2 separate regions of the Homo sapiens genome follow, and region 1 is linked to region 2. The links are contacts of gene promoters, found by promoter capture Hi-C in blood cells and fetal thymus (Javierre and others, 2016). All regions are on one chromosome and are shown on one strand. Each heading gives the region's core, a stretch centred on a gene start or on the middle of the fragment in contact. The rest is flanking DNA. Distances are from core to core; before and after follow the strand shown.

Evidence for each region. Contacts are between HindIII fragments. The CHiCAGO score rates a contact against its expected background, and 5 or more counts as called.
Region 1: a contact is called between a fragment that was not itself captured here and the fragment with the promoter of CSTF2 in region 2, in 3 of 17 cell types (non-activated CD4 T cells, fetal thymus and naive CD4 T cells). The highest score is 8.4, in non-activated CD4 T cells.

What each region holds. Positions count from the first base shown.
Region 1 is chrX:104,167,201-104,169,900 of GRCh38, forward strand. All of the region lies in intron 1 of FAM199X (family with sequence similarity 199, X-linked), which reads left to right. Among named protein-coding and RNA genes, the nearest start is that of FAM199X, 2.1 kb to the left of the region's middle. The HindIII fragment of the contact is 1,720 bases long and covers 421-2,140 here.
Region 2 is chrX:100,819,013-100,822,010 of GRCh38, forward strand. It overlaps CSTF2 (cleavage stimulation factor subunit 2), which reads left to right and starts at 1,379. Exons shown (of 14, transcript NM_001325.3): 1 at 1,379-1,462; 2 at 2,515-2,593. The coding sequence starts at 1,405. RefSeq lists enhancers at 1,051-1,110, 1,121-1,170, 1,451-1,610. The HindIII fragment of the contact is 13,366 bases long and covers 1-1,485 here.

The DNA.
Region 1 (2,700 bases), core at 31-2,530, 3.3 Mb after region 2:
TTCTGGCTATAGCGACTCCTCCCTTCCCTACCTTCTCCCTCCCTTGCTTCCCTTCCCTCCCCCCATCTGTACCCTACGAATCCCAAACCCCCACCCTTGATTTTTAGATACGCCCCTGTTTGCATCCATCTGCAAAAGTTTAACCCCTTCCATTTCCGGTACGCTGTAGAGGAATTTGGATGGCTCAAGATCAATCCATAGATCTTTTGAAAAGTGGCGTTGAAAGGTGGAACATTTAAAGCTAGAAGCTTCATTTTCCCTATTTTTAATCTGTCTCACAGTCCTGTTCCCCCCGCCGCCACCACCCCTACCCCATTTTTTTTTTTAGTTGAGCGCTAGGAAACTAGTCGATTCTCTCTTTTTTTCCTCCTCCTTTATTAACTGTTTGCCTTAGCGCTTTAGGCTCTGCCAAAATTGGTAAGCTTAAATCTGGAGGATTCCTTCATATGACATATCCCTTGGTTTCCTTCCCCTTTGAAGAGACAGAGTAAGGCTTAGGATGGACTGACTTACACAAATTTATTCAGAGGGTGTATCTCCTCCTAACTGATTTCAGTAGAAGGTAGTGTTCTGGAGACTTCTCTCATGCAAGCATTTACGTGTTAGATCAAATCTTGGGGGGTGGGTTGAAGACGTTCTAGATACAGCCTCAAGTTTTAACATAGGTGGATATTTGAGATACATATACAAAGGGCTGGGGGGGTGTGTGGTTAAGGCTCTAGGAGAGGGGTTCAGCTATGGAAAATACTGGAGATAAATTAAGAAATCTAGTTCTGACTTCTGATCCAAGTTTATGATGTGAGTTTGATCAAATTCTTCCATATTTTAATGTCTTTAGCATATTTCTCCCCTCCCTTCCCTTAAATCAGTCTGTAGATTGAATGAGCTTCTACCAGATACAAGGAATGTGTAAAAGATGTTTCTTACATAAATGAAAGTTATAGTCTATGGAAACAAGGTGTTATAGTTAAATAATCAGAATATCAGTATAACACATCTCAAAAGGAAGTGGCAGTAAATTTATTATGACTACTCTAAATCGTCATTGCAAAAAATGAAGAAACAGGCCCAGAAAGAAAAGATTGAGTTCAAGGTCATAAAACCTAGTCAAGCAAATCCAAGACTATTCCTTTGAAGCCAATGATTAAACTTGGAGCAGAACTAATTGATCCAGTGTTACAAATAGAACTTATGGTTTCCTAGACCAACTCACAGAAGCCTATTTAACCCCTGATGTCACTGTAATGTGAATGTAACATATTCATGAAATCAAGTGTGCTTAGGGTTATTTATGTTGAAAAATAATGTAAAAGAATACCTTTGTACATATTTGGCATTTAAGTTTTGCAGCCTTGGAGCAAGTCACATACCCAGGAAAGTTAAATAATTTCAGAATGATCCTGCTGTGATGATGAGGGCAAGGGAGTGAGGGCAGAGGCTGTGGGTAAGTACTGCCAAAACTGGGTAGAGGTGATGGGGAGTGAAGTTATGAGAATAATATGTTTCTTACAACTTGTTCTGTTCCTTCCTCCTCCCCGTTTTTTCCTGTGTTTTCTTTCCCTTAAAGACTGTGGTGAGGTCAGGACTGTTTTTCAATGGGGCAGTGAGGAGGGGAGAAGGAGGTTCTTTGCAAGCCCCAGTTTTTCCAAGTCAAGCATTTTTCCTAGTTACTGCTTGCTTTTTTTTTTTTTTTTTTTAACTTCCCTCTCCTACCCTACTTTTCGCAAGGCTTGGCATGGTGGCAGGGGTTCTAATGCTCTGTATCCTTTTCAGCAGAGAGTAGGGGAAGCAAAATTAGCGATATTCACAGCACATGATGTTTCTGTCCTAGGCTACCTTGCCTTTTAAATGTATTATCCTTCTGCAATGTTCTGCTTTCTTACCCCTCCTCAAGATGGTGCTTGAGAGGACCATAGGCTTCCAGCCATTTCTTTTCAGGGAGAAGCACACAGCTAAATCATATATCGGGCAAAGTTTAGGGAGTTCTTTTATTTTGGAGTTGTATGTGTCACTTTTTTCCTTCACATCACATCATTTGTCAATTCAGGCAACAACCCAAAAATCAGATTTCAAATAGTTGAGTGCTGAAATTCTGCCTTGGGTTTAGTGATTGTAAAACAAATTTTCATTGGAAGTAGGAAGCTTGTTAATTGGTAGATATTTGACTTAACCTTAATTTTGCTTCCTTCTTGGTACCTGATAAGAAAAATGTGGAGATTTTAAAAATAATGCACTTGATAAGGACCTTATGATTATGACAATTTTGTGCCTACTCATTTACTGGATTCTGGGCTATATTTGCAATTTTCATTAACAAAGACAGTCACAGCACTAACAGTCCCTGAGGTTGAATGGTTGCAATATTCAGATTTTTTTTTTTCTTTAAAGACAGAGTCCTGCTCTGTCATCCAGGCTAGAGTGCAGTTGCACAATCTTGGCTTAGGGCAACCTCCGCCTCCTGGGTTCGAGCGATTCTCCTGCCTCAGCCTTCTGAGTAGCTGGGACTATAGGCGTGTACCACTATGCCTGGCTAATTTTTATATTTTTAGTAGAGACAGGGTTTCACCATGTTGGCCAGGCTGATCTTGAACTCCAGACCTCAGGTGGTCCACCCACGTTGGCCTCCCAAAGTGCTGGGATTACAGGTGTGAGCCACCGCGCCCGGCCCAGTATTCAAATTAAAGTCATTTGTGATGTAGG
Region 2 (2,998 bases), core at 129-2,628:
AGAGCTGTAAATCTCCTTTTGGACCATTCCATTACACAAGGTGTCCTCTTGGTCACACAGTGATTGCAAATGGGACTCTAGAGTCATGGAAATGGGTATACTCTTCTCAAACTTTCCATCTTTACCAGAATTACTTCTTAAAGTGATATGCTTCATGGTGTAAACTAGCACTTATTAATTTTTTCTAAATATTTATCATATTTCATATACTTTTATTTTGGAGATGGAGTTTCGCTCTTGTTGCCCAGGCTGGAGCGCAATGGCAGATCTCGGATCACCGCAACATCCATCTCCCGGGTTCAAGCGATTCTCTGGCCTCAGCCTCCTGAGCAGCTGGGATTACAGGCATGCGCCACCACGCCCGGCTAATTTTGTATTTTTAGTAGAAAAGGGGTTCTCCATGTTGGCCAGGCTGGTCTCCAACTCCCGACCTCAGGTGATGCGCCCGCCTCGGCCTCCCAAAGTGTTGGCATTACAGGCATGAGCCACCGCGCCCGGCCCATATACTTTTAATACATGTGGAATTAATAAAAACGTCCATGCCTCCAATTCCGTGGCTATTTTACCGTCTTCCTTTTTCGGACAAGTCCCTCAAAGGTAGCGCTCTTGGCTCCTTCCTTTGCTTATCCCCTAACCCTGTCCTCCTGAGGTGCCCCCTGGATTTCCTCCAACCCCGGCAGGGTCTGCCTTTCCGGGATGATACAACGACCTGCCCTGCATGCCATATCCCAGGCGCGTGGGCACCAAAGTGTGGAAAAACCGATGAATGACGTTTTCTGTTTCCGATACTCTGCCTGCCAGAATCCCCTGCCGCACCGCCCCACCACGAAGCACATGGAACCCACGGACTACACGAGGACAGAGGTCTGTTCTCCCTTTACCTCTCCCATTTCTTTAACTATGCTTCTCTCGGCTGGCATGCCCTTTCCTCATCTCACTCCACACACGAACAGGTTTAGCAAATAATATGCACGCTGCTGGGACGGGCCCAAGCATTTCCCTCCCTTGATAGGGCGGAACTAAAATGCAAGCCCCACAGTTGTCAGCAAAGGACTTCCCTGTTACCATGGTAAAGCCGCTGCGCCTTTATTGTGGTTGAGGAGTACTTGCATCAACCTAAGAGAAAATTAATAAGAAGGAAGTCTGCAGGCTGAAACCCTTCAAATTAGCCTGGACTCGCCTGCATCTGGCTCGGAACAGAGTTAATCTCAGGAGTGAGAATATAGCCCTCCGGTGGACGCAACTCGCGCCTGCGGCTAACAGAATGTCTCCAGGGGAGGGGCTCTGCGTCCGTTCCGCCCAGGCCCTTCCGGCTCACGCGCCGTACGGAAGCGTGCTCAGCGCTGGGCTTGTGCTCCGTACGGAAGTGTGCTTTGGCGCACCGGAAGCCGACTCAACAGAGCTATGGCGGGTTTGACTGTGAGAGACCCAGCGGTGGATCGTTCTCTACGTTCTGTGTTCGGTGAGAGGAATTCGTTGTAGTCAAGCTTCGGGGAGGGACTCCCCTCTGCACCTTCTATCTCATGAATCGCTACCGGAGCCGCTGACGGTTCGGACGTGCAGTTCTCCCTGCTTATCCTGTAGGGCGTCCAACCTGGTGGACTCATGAGCAAAGAGATATTCCCATTCTGCCGAGGTCTCGTAGGCTTTCCGCAATATCAGTGGGGAAGTTAGACTAGCGTTCAGCTTCTGTGCGTTTCTCCTTTCATGAGCTTCAATTATTCTCTAGAGGAGAAGGCTCACGGTAACAGCTCCTCACTGTCCCGTACTACTTCTCATCCTCTGCCCCAGAATACAGACTATATGCTGAGGGTATAGATCCTAGTGTCCACTTACTGTCCTCTCCTAAGGACTTTCATCCTTTGCTTTTTATCTGTAACATTTTAGTGCATCAATAGTGGTAGCGGCCACCTGGTGTCCTGAGATGGCTTGTAAGTGAATGAATGAATGAACTATTAAGATCTCCTCAGAGGAATTTTAAAAAGGATCGAAACGATTCTGAATTATCTTTTTGGCTGAAATAAGTTGTTTTTAAAAATACGTGTGATTATTTTAGAGTACCATTTGAAAGGGACATGACAAAGTAGTTCAGAATACTTTTTAAACATCTTTCACTACATTCATCGTCATTCTCCCTTAAATGTTGTATGTGTGGAAATACATAGGAACCTGTTTTAAAAATTATATTAAATAACATTGATATTTTTTGTAGTCACTGATGAGACTTGCAGATCTTTAGGTAAATACCAGTGCCAAAGTATTTATTTGCACCAAAGTTAAGGAAAATCTAACACGTGTCAGATCAGTCTGAGAACTAACATTTGAGAGTACCTACACATTTTGTATTTAGTTTCAGTGGTATATTTCCTTTGTTAAGAGGTCTGAAGAAATACAATGGAATTGGGATTGGAGAACACTATTTTGAGTCTTATATTTGATGATATAAGTTTACTTTCTCACTAAAGATCTATGTTATAAACTCAGAATTTTAATGTTACCTATTTTCTTCCTTAGTGGGGAACATTCCTTATGAAGCTACTGAAGAGCAGTTGAAGGACATCTTTTCTGAGGTTGGACCTGTTGTTAGTTTCAGGTGAGATCCCCTTTTCCTTCATGGTGGGAGCTTCTTAAAAATCACCACAGATTTGGCTCTTAGTAATAATGGCAGGTTTTCTTTACTGGTGACTTTTCACATACATTTTGTTCTTGTAACAGCTTTATTGAGATATAATTGATACACTATACAATTGACATTTATTCTTACCTAAAATATGTTTTTTTCGTTAAAAATGTTTTTTAGGCAGGGCATAGTGACTCAAGCCTGTAATCCCAGCACTTTGGGAGGCCGAGGCAGGCGGATCACCTGGGGTCAGGAGTTCGAGACCAGCCTGACCAATGTGGTGAAACCTTGTCTCTACTAAAAATACAAAAATTAGCCGCCGTGGTGGCCCATGCCTGTAGTCCCAGCTACTCAGGAGGCTGAGACAGGAGAATTGCT